2 separate regions of the Homo sapiens genome follow, and region 1 is linked to region 2. Evidence: promoter capture Hi-C in 16 types of primary human blood cells and fetal thymus (Javierre and others, 2016). All regions are on one chromosome and are shown on one strand. Each heading gives the region's core, a stretch centred on a gene start or on the middle of the fragment in contact. The rest is flanking DNA. Distances are from core to core; before and after follow the strand shown.

The links. The method cuts DNA at HindIII sites, captures the fragments that hold promoters and counts their contacts. A CHiCAGO score of 5 or more calls a contact.
Region 1: a fragment that was not itself captured here is called in contact with the fragment with the promoter of REST in region 2 in 5 of 17 cell types (naive CD8 T cells, total CD8 T cells, total CD4 T cells and 2 more); the score reaches 7.9 in naive CD8 T cells.

Annotation. Positions count from the first base shown.
Region 1 is chr4:51,837,212-51,843,725 of GRCh38, forward strand. It overlaps DCUN1D4 (defective in cullin neddylation 1 domain containing 4), which reads left to right and starts at 5,942. Exons shown (of 11, transcript NM_001040402.3): 1 at 5,942-6,056. The coding sequence starts at 6,032. RefSeq lists silencers at 5,670-5,819, 5,830-5,879, 5,970-6,319, 6,420-6,499. The HindIII fragment of the contact is 1,059 bases long and covers 2,152-3,210 here.
Region 2 is chr4:56,905,422-56,912,878 of GRCh38, forward strand. It overlaps REST (RE1 silencing transcription factor), which reads left to right and starts at 2,479. Exons shown (of 4, transcript NM_005612.5): 1 at 2,479-2,792; 2 at 5,209-6,115. The coding sequence starts at 5,218. RefSeq lists enhancers at 1,936-2,865, 3,796-4,725 and silencers at 1,962-2,256, 2,356-2,745, 2,856-3,705. The HindIII fragment of the contact is 2,443 bases long and covers 2,024-4,466 here.

The DNA.
Region 1 (6,514 bases), core at 1,431-3,930, 5.1 Mb before region 2:
ATTTTTATTCAAATACTTTGTTAATTCCCTAGGCAGGTGTGATTTCCATAAAATAAAAGGTCCTGAGTAAAAAGGAAAAGAGTCAGTTTAAGAATTCTATGGCTGTACTGGAATAAAATATTAGCAAAAAGACTTGCTAATGCTACCCTGATAGTGATGTGTTAAGAAATCTTAGGCCGGGCGCGGTGGCTCACGCCTGTAATCCCAGCACTTTGGGAGGCCGAGGCGGGCGGATCACGAGGTCAGGAGATCGAGACCACGGTGAAACCCCGTCTCTACTAAAAATACAAAGAATTAGCCGGGCGCAGTGGCGGGCGCCTGTAGTCCCAACTACTCGGGAGGCTGAGGCAGGAGAATGGCGTGAACCCGGAAGGCGGAGCTTGCAGTGAGCGGAGATCGCGCCACAGCACTCCCGCCTGGGCGACAGAACGAGACTCCGTCTCAAAAAAAAAAAAAAAAAAAAAAAAAAAAAAAGAAATCTTAGAAGTTAGAAATAATTTACAAATAAATGATATTTTCTCTATATCCAGGAGAGGCAAAAAAAAATCATTGCTAAACGAAATTAAAACTGAAACACAGATGTCAAATATAATTGGAAAATTCTTAGCTTTTCTGAGAGATTTCTAAGATGGCTCCTTCATGAGGAAAGATATCAGGATTTTCTAGAAAATTTAAAAGTATAGGGCCAGGCACTATTGCTCATACCTGCAATCCCAGCACTTTGAGAGGCTTGAGGCGGGCAGATCACTTGAAGTCAGGAGTTAGAGACCAGCCTGACCAACATGGTGAAAACCTGTCTCTACTAAAAATACAAAATTAGCCGGGCATGGTGGCACACGCATGTAGTCCCAGCTACACGATGAGCCACAAGAATCACTTGAACTCAGGAGATGGAGATTGCAGTGAGCCAAGATCATGCCACTGCACTCCAGCCTGGGTTCTCAGTGATATATCGAAGTCGAGAATTTATAACATTCAGCAGAGCTTCATTAGACACTCTGAATAAATAATCTCATTTGCTGTGGGGATAAGGTCAAAAGGGTAAAATAAATAAGAATTTAGTAACCTGGATGTAATCCTTCTGACCCATACTTTTCATTATATAGATCTATAAAAGGAGCCTGAGTGGCTAGATGTTCATCCCTAAAAAGAGGCCTGGTTTCACTTTATTTATTTATTTATTTATTTGAGGCAGGGTCTCATTCTGTCACCAAGGCTGGAGTGCAGTGGCGTGATCTCAGCTCACTGCAGCCTCCACCCATAGGGCTCAAGGGATCCTCCCACCTCAGCCACCTGAGTAGCTAGGATTACAGGCAGCTGCCACCACACCCAGATAATTTTGCATTTTTTTGTAGAGATAGGGTCTCCCTGTGTTGGCCCAGACTGGTATCAAACTCTTGGGCTCAAGTGATCCACCCACCTCAGCCTCCGAAAGTGCTGGGGTTTCAGGCATGAGCCACCATGCCCAGCCTGATTTCACTATCTTTTGAGAGCATGTTAACAACCATATTATTGTATCCTTATAAATAATCTCTGAGGTATATAGGGGCATATATTAACCTGATTAAAAAGAGAAGGAACTGGCCAGGTGCGGTGGCTCATGCCTGTAATCTCAGCACTTTGGGAACTGAGGCGGGCAGATCACCTGAGGTCAGGAGTTTGAGACCATCCTGGCCAACATGGCAAAACCCCGTCTCTACTAAAAACACAACAATTAGTCGGGTGTGGTGGCGTGTGCCTGTAATCCCAGCTACTTGAGAGGCTGAGGCAGGAGAATCACTTGAACCCAGGAGGCAGAGGTTGCCGTGAATGGAGATCCCACCACTGCACTCCAGCCTGGGCGACAGAGTGAGACTCCGTCTCAAAAGAGACAGAGAGAGAGAGAGAAAAGGAAGGAAGAAGGGAAGGAGAGAAGGAGGGAATGAGGGAGGGAAGGAAGGAAGGAAGGAAGGAGAAGGAAGGAAGGAAGAAAGGAGAAGGAAGGAAGGAAGGAAGGAAGGAGGGAAGGAAAGAAAGAAAGAAAGAAAAGAAGGAAAGGAAGAAAGAAAGAAAGAAACTAAAGCCCAACACAGGAATATTAAAAACATGGAGTCTGGCTACTTAGGGGCACGTTTACTTATTAGCTGGGTGGCAAGTTACCGAAGCTCTTGAAGCTTCAGTTAACTTACCTGTAGATTGGGGATACTATTAGTTATTAGTACTCCACTGTGTTGTTGTGAAGTTAAGTAGATTAGTTTACCAGTACAGTACTATTAGAGTAGTGCCCGTCACATAGGAAGCATTAAGAAAGAAGTTGTTATCACTTGGGACAGCAAATTCAGTTGGTCATATTTGGAGAAAGAAAACTATCCTGCCCTCTATGGATAAATTCTCCTTTCGGAGGGGGTTTATTTTCATTTCCAAATACTAGAAACCCACCTAGCCTGACATTTTATTACTAAAGGAGTTCTGCCAACTCTCTCACTGTAATCTAAGGCCAAATTAATTCCTCTCTGTCCTGTGTTCTTTCTTATTCTCTTTAAATCTTACCAGGGACACATTTATCTGTCTGTGCAGGCCCAACTTATTTTCAGTCTCAAGAACTATGCTATTCTTCCTCCTACTCCCAATCCCAACACATGCAGGAAAAGCATGCTACAGTGGGCTTAGCAGAATTTAGGGGAAAGCGTAACATTTGATTGAAGAGCTCTGCTGTTTTTTTTCTCTTACTAGACTTCTCCATATCACATTCTAATCTAGGCTTAGGGCATTTCAAAATATATCTGATTAAAATTAATATTGTATGACTAATAAAATAGAAAAATTCCAATTAAATTAGGTATCATTAACATGGAGTAACTTGCTTCAATATTACCTTAAAGCAGTAACTGGGTGAAATGAAATGGCATAAAGACTGCATCTCCAAATATCTCTACCCATCACAGTCCCAAGATATTCAATTATTAATTTTTTTCTCCAGGGATTCAAATATAAATGTACAGAAGTATAACATTATTATCTCAGTAAACCTCTCCATGGGGATCATGTTCTTTGGGAATACTACAAATGAGAAAAAAAAAAGTGAAGTATTGATTTACATATTGAAAAAAATCCTGAATGAAATACATAAAAAAGAAGGCAACATTTCAACCATGAAGCAGACTTGTATTAGATTGGCATAGTAACTTTCAGATGGGAAGGGAGAGTAGTTTACCTATCTTTGGAATTTGAAGCTTTGATATTAGACAGTGTGGTACAGGGGATAGAGTTGAGAAACCTGAATTTAAGCCCTGTTTTGTTATCAACTAGCCAAGTGACTCAGATTAAACATTTAACTCCTTTGGATGTCAAGTCTCTTATTTTTAAAATGAAGATGTTGGATTTGATAATCACCAAGGTTCCTATCCAGATCTAAAATTTCATGTACGGTAAACATTCATTTTAAGGGGTATGGTTAACCAGTGCCTACCACAATATTTGAAAGCATTGTACTAGGTGCTAGGCAAGTAAAAAGATAACTATAACAAGTTTCCTGATATCAGAGGTTTATATGGTGTGGATTATTTAAATGACCAGGTAATATTTGCAGAGCATTATGTAGTCATTTTATTATACTTTGTAAAACGTGGGGGCAGTGAGGGTCAGCCGACTAGGAATGAGCTTTGCCTCTCAATCCTTAGGCTATAGCTGACTCTTTATAAAGATCTGGGTAAATTACCTCTAAGTCTGTTTTCTACTTGAAAATAATCATACTGACTCAACTGAAAGCAATGTTGAGAAATAACAGAGGTTGTACATTCTATAAATTTTTATGGACACCATGCATATGCCAGGCCAGTGTTGGGAGCTGGGGCAAAGCAGCCGACCCATCCTTCATCTAGCTTAACTCTTATACACATTATTATAAAGTATGCTGCAAATAAATTAATAGAGCAAATGACTAGCTATAATTAATTGTGGGCTTATTGTAATTTAGAGGTGTCACGAAGGAAGCCCTTTTCTGTGCAAAATAACATGTGTCTCAGTCTTTGAAGTACCATGGTAAACGGTAAAAAAAAAAATCATAAATATTACACACACAAAAGATTTGAAACTTGTATTAAATGACATATAATTTATTATTTCCTAGATGTAGATTAAGCTGAAACATAAATAGAATAAAGAATGCAGGAGCAGCTTCCCTGCTCAGAGTAAGGGCGGATATTCTTACTGCTAGATCTGCCCAACAAGCAATCCCCTATCTCAGAGTCCAGAGGTACCTACCCATCACTGTGGGGCCCCGCTGAGGTACTGTCATGATAAAGGTGATCAATAAGGATGTTCTATGAGAGATTCTTGTCTTGCGAAAGAACCTGAAGCAAATAATAAATAACTTCAGGTACAGTTCTGAGATTCCATAAAGTGATTCATAAATGTTTGAATGATAAAAATATTATATAAATAGTATTATAAGGATGTAATTTATTAAAGAGAAATTAGCGATTAAGATGGAGGGAGCATTTTACCATGGGAGTGCTGTGGGACACAGAAACTGGTTTGTCTGAGCCCCTTCCAAATAGCATAACATTTGTGTCCTGATTTAAAATCTAAATTTCAGAGCCTGGAAACCCAAAAGCCTGGGCTGTAGAAATCTAAAACCAAAAAGACCGTGCGTTCTGTTACCTGTGATTTGTGGTGTCACCTACTCTTTGAGGCTCCCAGATGGCCCAGGGCCTTAGGATATGGGGATGCCTTGTAGGTGTGTTGTTGTTGGAGTTGGTGGCTGGGATGAGGGTGGAGGCAGGGTAGGGTGGGGGTGGGTTGGGGTGGGGGGAATCCTCCGTTAATATCTCGAAATATTGTTCTGTTACCATAATGCGGTGTGATAAGTTAGCTTCAAGTATTGAAAAATCAGGGCAGGACTCATGGAAATGGTGCGAATTCTTGACTTAGGGTCAGAAGAATTCACCAAAATTAACGTCTCCCTCTGCCAAATAACAGCCAGTTTCAATTTCTGGACGGCCTCTCCGCGGGAGTGACAGGTTTTCTTAGATGCCGCCGGGGGTCTTTCACGGGCTGGTGGTCTGCCCCCTGGACTCGTCCATGTGTTAGGCTCAGTCCGCAGCTCAGAGCGCGGCCCTGTATTTCTGTCTGATGTCTGGGGCATACAGATGTGTGTGACGGACAATGCTCGTGGCATTCGAAGCCTCTTTAACAGACATTAGTGACTAGAGGAAAGAAGTGTGCGAACTCTGCGAAACAAGTATGCGGACTCTGGAAAAGAAGTACATTTCGAAAGTGGGGAGAGGATGGATCTTCGTAGGAGAAATGGAAATTTGCTCCCCACCAGAAGGTTTGCTGGAAATTAAGACGCGGCAATTCTTAATCCAGTTTCCTGCGGTAGGAAGCAGCTGACAAGAGAAGTCCCAGTCCGAGTTCGGCGCGAACTGGACAAGTGTCGTGGGACAAGTGGCGGGAGACCCGGCCGCGTCGCGCCGGGCGCTAGGGACGGACGCATTTCCCTACTTCCAGCAGCTGGTACGAGCCGCCCCCAACTGCGCTGCGCTGCTCTATTCTTTGGGAAACACTTCGCGTGCTTTGTTTCAGACGCCGACCCATCTTTCTTGGTGGGTCTCCAGCTCCACCAATCCCGCCCGCCACTGGGCGGGGTTTCAGGGTCAAGGTGGACCAATTTCCCAGCTTCGCCCCTACACGCGCTCTCGGACCCCTGGGGGTGACTGACAGCAGCCGGGCCCAACCCGCTGCTCCGGAGCATGGCCTCCGCCAGGGGCGTTACGGAGACAAGGCCCCAGGACCAATCGTATTGGCCAGTGGGGGGCGGGGCCTCGTTGCCAGCTCCAGACCGGCGCTATGGGCACTCCTTTTGTCAAATGAGAGACGCAGCAGGGCGGCCCCTGAGCCGCGGTTTAGCCAATGGAGAAGGCGAGATGGGCGGGCTGGGAGTGCCCGGCGGCGGGTCCTCAGCTTCGAGCCGAGGTGCAGTGAGCTGGTGGGGGGACCGCGAGGCGAGCGCGGGAGCCTGGGCGGCGAGCCGGGTGTGAGCTGCCTGAAAATGCACTCGGATGCCGCCGCTGTCAGTGAGTAGCAGAGAGCCAGCCAGCGGGCCGGGGCCGGGCGGCTGCCAAACTCGCCACTCGGCTCCCGCAGTCCCCGCCCCACGCCTCGGGTCCCGAAACGCGCCGGGAGCCCCTGCCTGGGAACCACCCCTTCCCCTCCCGGGGCCGGGGCGGGCGGTGACGCTGCGGGCGGCGTGGGGCGGGGGCGGGCGTGGGGGGAAGGGACCGGCCTGCGGGGAGGGCGGAGGTGAGGGGGGTGGGGACTGGCTCTCTTTCAGTGTTGGGGGAAGGGAGGGCTGGACGTGCGATGAAGGGCCGAGATCGGAGTGTCCGGGGTGCATGGAGGTGGAGGCAGCGTTGGGCTGTAGCGGGCAGGGCCGGGGATGTGGGGGGGTGGCACCGGCGGGGAGAGGGAGGGAGCGAGCGAGCGAGCGGGGCACAAGGGTGAGGATTTCCAAAGGGCTGAGTGGTGCGGGCGG
Region 2 (7,457 bases), core at 1,229-3,728:
TTGGGAGTTCGAGACCAGCCTGACCAACATGGAGAAACCCCCGTCTCTAACTAAAAATACAAAATTAGCTTGGCGTGGTGGCACATGCCTGTAATCCCAGCTACTCGGGAGGCTGAGGCAGGAGAATTGCTTGAACCCGGGAGGCGGAGGTTGCGGTGAGCCGAGATCGTGCTATTGCACTCCAGCCTGGGCAAAAAGAGCCAAATTCTGTCTCAAAAAAAAAAAAAAAAAAAAAAAGAAAGAAATCTCTCTAGAGAAAATACTATTAAGAACATATGATAATTAAAATAAAAAAATTGATGAGTTAAATATGCAGGAAAAAAACCATATAAGAAAAGCAGAACTCATTCTCATTTCAGAGTTTTTATCTTGCAGAAGATCCTAAAGTTTGGATACAGCAAAGTAAAATACAGACTTTTGAAAAACAGTTAGGAATTCAAGTTCATAGCAACAGCTTCCCTCAAGAAAATTTTCAATTGATTTGTAATTTGGCCTATGAATTTGACCTGTGGCCTTCATGTCATGATAATTTGGGTCACTCTGAATATGCCATCCCTTGAACAAGGGCCTCTGCTAATTTTAAATGAATGCAGCTGCCCATTCGCCATTCTTCTATTTGCATCACAATATGTGGGAATAAATTTGCAATTAATAAGACATTTCCAGTAAGCAGTCAGATTGAGGAAATGAAGGACATTTAGTAAGTTTAACAAGAGACATTTCATTTTTGCCTTTTTGGACCTAAAAAAGGGAAAGAAAACAAGTTTATGTCTTTGACAACCTTGGTAGAGGCCTGAATTGTACCCTGGGCTACAGCATCTAAAAAAGCCATGTGACCTCAAACTTGATTTTAGTTAAACAAATAAAATATATATAGAAAAGTTTGTACCAGTCCTAAAAATGTCGATCTTCCTTTCCTCCCTCCCTCCCTCCCTTCCTTCCTGTCTCTTTGGTTCAATGAAAATGAATACTTTTCAGGTTTGATTCATGGAGAGGTGTTACATTTGAAATTGCCTCATTGAAACTTTTGGTGGTCGAGCACCTTAGGGTCTTCATTTCATCTTGCATCGGAGACTGCATTAATTAGTAATATATTGTCCAGATAGAGGGAAACAGAGGTCCTACGTGGGTATACCAGGAAATGAAGAGTCTGGAAGCCCTGCCCTAAGAGAAACAAATAAAGGAACTTCAAAGAGAAGGAAGTGAGGTACCCTGAGGAGAAGCTGGGATGTCTTAACAACTGCTTTGGGATTTTGAGCTTGCCCTTTTCACTGTGTAGAGTGTTCCTTGCCCTACTTTCCACCTGTTGAAGTTTTCCTCATTCTCCAAGGTCAGACTGAATACATCTACTGTGAAAAGTTTCTAGAACCTCTTGGGATCCATCTTCCTACTGGCAAACCCCCATAGCACTTGCTACTTATGTTGTAATACCAAGCAATAGTCAGACTTATCTAGGTCAAGTTAAGTAGGGGCTTGAACGCCACACTAAGGGGTTTAAGCTTTAAGCTTGTAGTCATGGGGAGCCACTATGCTTCTGAGGACAGGTGTGACTTACGACTGACGTTTAGGAAGGTATCAAAGGCAGACTGAGAAGCTCTTTCAGGTGTGAAAGGGGGTGGAATTACTCTCTCTCTGTTCTTTTTTGTTGTTTTTGTTTTTGTTAGCACATGACTATGGGCTAGGCATTCCGCTTGGTTATCCCGCTTCATAGACGTGAGCCCGGTTACTCCGACACACCGTGGCCCCAGGCAGCCTCCCCGTCCTCACCACCTTTTCTTCTGTCATCTGAGGGTAATTCCTCCCCTGCAGTCGTGCTTTCCGGGCTCAGCAATGACCTGCTACCTGCCACGTCTAGGGATCTGTCCCCTCAGTCCTCACGCTCACGCTTTCTGAGTCCATAACCTCCTTCCTGAAACGTTTTCTTCTCACTTCTCCCAAACTGACTGCATTCCCCCTCCGGTAGTTTGAAATTTGGAAGACTTTTTTTTTTTTTTTTTTTTTTTACCGCAGACGCTTAAAACGAAGCTTAATTAGTCAAGGACAGCTATGGGTGGAGACTTGAAGAGATCTGAAGGGTATCTTGGAGCGCTTTAGACTTGAGAGGCCGGTGACAATAGCTCTAAAGAGACCCGTCAAAGCCTGCGGATTCTTCTTTTAACAGCTCTATTCTCATGCATGCACGCCAGGGCTGGGGGGAACTTTTGTTGTTTGTTTGTAATAGAAATCGAGAAAGGGAGTGGGGCCCGCCTCTTTTCTGACCTAAGGGCAGGAGTGAGGGGCCGGGAGGATTACGGGCGGCTCCCCCTAGACGCGCCCCCAGGCGAGCTGGAGACTGGGGCACTCCTTGCTTGGTAGAGGGGCGGGGCGCGCCTAGCGGCCACGCGCGCGGGCGTCGGAGGGGGCGTGTCTCGCGGGCGCGCGCGGGCGTCGGAGGGGGCGTGTCCCGCGGGCGGTGGCGGCGGCGGCGGCGCGGACTGGGTGCGCGGCGCAGCGTCCTGTGTTGGAATGTGCGGCTGCCGCGAGCTCGCGGCGCAGCAGCGGAGCGAGCGCCGCCGAGGCCCGGGGCCCCAGACCCTGGCGGCGGCTGCCGCAGCCGAGACGGCAGGGCGAGGCCCGGAGGCCTGAGCACCCTCTGCAGCCCCACTCCTGGGCCTTCTTGGTCCACGACGGCCCCAGCACCCAACTTTACCACCCTCCCCCACCTCTCCCCCGAAACTCCAGCAACAAAGAAAAGTAGTCGGAGAAGGAGCGGCGACTCAGGGTCGCCCGCCCCTCCTCACCGAGGAAGGCCGGTAAGTGGGGCGCTGGGCTGGGGGCTCGGTCAGGGTGGGGGAGGGCCGCCCGGGCGGCGGCAGTGGCGGGACGGGGAGGGCGCGGAAGGACGCGGAGTCAGGCGCTGTCCAGGGCTGATTTGCAGATACTGTGGCTCCGGCGGCGGCGGCCCCGCCGGGCGGGGGCTGGCGGCCGAGCAGGATCGGGTTACACAGCAGCCGCCCGGGGGCTGGGGGCGTTTGTTGGGAGCAGCGCGTCGCCTGGACCCCCTCCCCACTGGAGGCTGGGACGCCGCCTCCGCGCTGGCCCGGACGCTCCACCGAGTCAGGTCCTTTGAGGCCAAGGAGCGGAGCTGCTCGGGCCCGTAGTCCTGAAACTTCCTCTGCTTCCTCCTCCTGCCCCCGGGTCCCACCGCAGCCCCGCGCCGGCCCGCGGCCCTCCTGGCCCCCTCCCCCAGGGCCTCTCCCTGTCGCCGGAAGGCGCCGTTGAGTGCGGCCGGGCGGGTTGAGTCAGCCCCGGGGCCCGGGCGGTTCCGCCTGCGGGGCTGGACAGCGATTTCTGCGCTTCAGCCGTCCGGCGCCGCTGGCCCCCGCGTCCGGCCACCCGACCGCTGGAGCTGGCGGGGCTGGGGCGCGCGTCCTGCCGGGCGCCGTGGGGGAGTGAAGTTCGCAAACTTCCGGGGCGCGGGGGTGGCGGCTGGCCCGTGTGGGGGCCCCCTCCGGCGCTCGGAGCCCGACGCCTCGCGAGGGCGCCCGCGGAGCCTCCCCGGCCCTGGGCGTTGGGCGAGCCCCGGGGCGGTCGGAGGGGCCCGGGGGCGGTCGGAGAAGCCCGGACGCCGGCTGCGCGGTAACTTTCCGTCCTCTCCCGGGACGGGGGCCCTAGGGCTGGGGAGGGGGCTGCCTGGACTCGGGGAGGACTGGTTCCGGCCAAACAGCGCCTCGAGCTTGATCCCCTCCCCCGTTTTAGTGTTGGAGAGCGCAGGAAAAGGCTCAGGACGAGTGTCGGGGCGACTCCCGCGAGTTGGTGTGTAAATGTGTGCAGTGAGCGGGCCGAGGCGAGAGGAAGCGAGAGCGCCCGAGTTTGCAAAGAGCTGCTTTGTGTTTGGTATTTTGAGAAAATGGCCGAATGCCTATTTCAGTTAGGAATGCCGCCGCCGAGGCAGGCGCTGGTGGCAGCAGCACGGAGGAATTCGTGCAGCACGTTGGGCTTTCGGGCTGTGCCTGGACGGTCTTCCTAACAATCGTTAAAATTCCATTTGGGGTGGCAGTTAGGGGTTAGGGAGCAATTAGAAAAGTCGATGTTGGGCCAAATTACCCAATAGCTTGGGCTGTTCAGCCCCGGGACAGCCTTCGCCCTCTGTTTTCTGTGATGGCATTTGCTTCCAACTTTTGTTGGTACGTAGAACTAAACCGGTTTGTGTTTATACACTTGGGTGAAGCGGGTTACTTTTTGTATTTTCGGTTTAACTTTATTTTCTTAGAACTTCTTACTTTTTTTAATTTGCGAGTGAACACTTCGTTTGAGAATGGCACCTTTTAGATTGAGAAGTAACGTAGCATCTAGAAAGCCCAACTTGTTTTGAAGAAGGTGATCTTGTAATGGCTTCCACTAGGCAAGTAGGCCAAGTCAAGCACAATGCAAGAAAGTTGCTGATTGTCGAGTTGAGTTGCACGATGATTTTATTCGTATTGAAAAGCTTGGAATTCAGTGTTGTGGAACTTCAGCCTGCAGAAAAATAAGCTTATTAATTTTTATTTGTGAAGTTTTGAATAAATCAAACTTCCTTTTTCACAAGAAAAGGGGTCCATAAATGTTTTTTCTTTTAAGCCTGTGGAGTTGTCGAAAAATTAAGGGGCTGACTGCTACTTTTTCACAGTAGTTTATTCTTTTGGAGTTAGTTGAGTTCATGCGAAATCCAATTAAGTTGAACAATTATTACAGGCTTGTACTTTCCAGATGTGTTTGTGTACTTAATAAATGCACTGAATGGCTTGTGGATTTCTGGGCTTTCTGATTCAGACCATTGAACTGTTGAAGGGGGGAAAAGTTGGGAGGACAATAATTTACTACTCATGTTTTGAATTTTTAAAATAATTTTAACAGTAAAAATGAAGGTTACTTTTTATCCCCACCAGAACAATTAAAAGTGCTTGAGGAGGCACCACATGCCAGTGGCTGAATGATGAATGAGTTGTGCAAACAATTGGTAGAATTGTTTTATAGGGATAGTAGAAATTTTTTTTTGGTGATTGCAGTAGACTATTGGGAATTAACAACTATTTTAAAGATTTGTTTTTAATAGGCGATGAAGTTTACTGAGTTATAAAGATCATACTGGAAAATTTTTAAGTTATGAAGAATTACAGCGATGTGGTTTTAAGCCAGTAACAGTAGTGTTTAAACTGGTGCTCTTGTTTTGTTTTGTTTTTAATTCAGAATACAGTTATGGCCACCCAGGTAATGGGGCAGTCTTCTGGAGGAGGAGGGCTGTTTACCAGCAGTGGCAACATTGGAATGGCCCTGCCTAACGACATGTATGACTTGCATGACCTTTCCAAAGCTGAACTGGCCGCACCTCAGCTTATTATGCTGGCAAATGTGGCCTTAACTGGGGAAGTAAATGGCAGCTGCTGTGATTACCTGGTCGGTGAAGAAAGACAGATGGCAGAACTGATGCCGGTTGGGGATAACAACTTTTCAGATAGTGAAGAAGGAGAAGGACTTGAAGAGTCTGCTGATATAAAAGGTGAACCTCATGGACTGGAAAACATGGAACTGAGAAGTTTGGAACTCAGCGTCGTAGAACCTCAGCCTGTATTTGAGGCATCAGGTGCTCCAGATATTTACAGTTCAAATAAAGATCTTCCCCCTGAAACACCTGGAGCGGAGGACAAAGGCAAGAGCTCGAAGACCAAACCCTTTCGCTGTAAGCCATGCCAATATGAAGCAGAATCTGAAGAACAGTTTGTGCATCACATCAGAGTTCACAGTGCTAAGAAATTTTTTGTGGAAGAGAGTGCAGAGAAGCAGGCAAAAGCCAGGGAATCTGGCTCTTCCACTGCAGAAGAGGGAGATTTCTCCAAGGGCCCCATTCGCTGTGACCGCTGCGGCTACAATACTAATCGATATGATCACTATACAGCACACCTGAAACACCACACCAGAGCTGGGGATAATGAGCGAGTCTACAAGTGTATCATTTGCACATACACAACAGTGAGCGAGTATCACTGGAGGAAACATTTAAGAAACCATTTTCCAAGGAAAGTATACACATGTGGAAAATGCAACTATTTTTCAGACAGAAAAAACAATTATGTTCAGCATGTTAGAACTCATACAGGTAAGAGAAGCTTTCTAGTCCATAAGTTCAGTTCTCTTTTCTGATTGTTACTTGAGTGGTTAGTTAAGTAGTGCTTGAGAAAAAGGACTCTGGTTCAAATCCAGGTTCCATTTTGCTATCTTTGTGACCTTGCACAAGTTGTTTAACCTCTTTGTTCAGAAATTTCTCCATGGAGTAACAATATCTAGGTTGGGAGGATTATGTGAAGTTACATGTAAAGCACAGAGGAACAGCCAAGAGATCTTACCGTGGTCTTACTAAAGTACATATCCTAACTTGGGGTTTACCTTCAGCAAGTTAGACTGGCCGTGCATGGTGGCTCACGCCTGTAATCCCAGCACCTCGGGAGGCCGAGGCGTAAGGACTGCCTGAGCCCAGAAGTTCTAGACCAGTCTGGGAAACGTGGAAAGACCCCCGTCTCAAAAAGAAAACAGAAAAAAAAAAGTTTGTGTATTTATTTCTGTGACAGTGAACACATTTAAGATGCAGTGTAGTTTCTGAAAGAAATTGAGGGCTTATATAAAAAGGAAAACTCAGTGATTAACCTTGCACATGCCCACTTAACAAAAGCCTCAAACTTTAAAACATTTGACTTATAGCATTGAGTTCCTAAATGGAACAACTTGTCTTTGTCCACAAAAAAGAAATGTGAGAAGGTAGTTTTTAAAAGGTGGGTGGGATTATCACCAATTGAAACTATTTTCCTATGAAAGCAAACACTTGTAGAAAATGTATTTTTCAGACAATTATGTTTAGGGTGTTTGAACTGATACTAAGCGCAACTGTATAAAAAAAGTTGAAACTTTTTTTTTTTTTTTTTTTTTGAGACAGTCTGGCTTTGTCGCCCAGGCTGGAGTGCAGTGGCAAGATCTCAGCTCAGTGTAACCTCTGCCTCAGGGTTCAAGTGATTATCTTGCTTCAGCCTCCCTGGCTCAGCCTCCCGAGTAGCTGGGATTACAGGCACCCACCACCGTGCCTGGCTAATTTTTTTTTTTTGAGACGGAGTCTGGCTCTGTTGTCGAGGCTGGAGTGCAGTGGCATGGTCTTGGCTCACTGCAACCTCTGTCTCCCAGGTTCAAGCAGTTCTCCTGCCTCAGCCTCCTGAGTGGCTGGGACTATAGGTGCCCACCACCACACCCAGCTGATTTTGTATTTTTAGTAGAGATGGGGTTTCACCATGTTGCCCAGGCTGGTCTTGAACTCCTGACCTCGTGATCCGCCCACCTCAGCCTCCCAGAATGCTGGGATTACAGGCGTGAGTGCCACCCCTGGCTAATTTTTGTATTTTTAGTAGAGATGGGGTTTTGCCATATTGGCCAGGCTGGTCTCAAACTCCTGACCT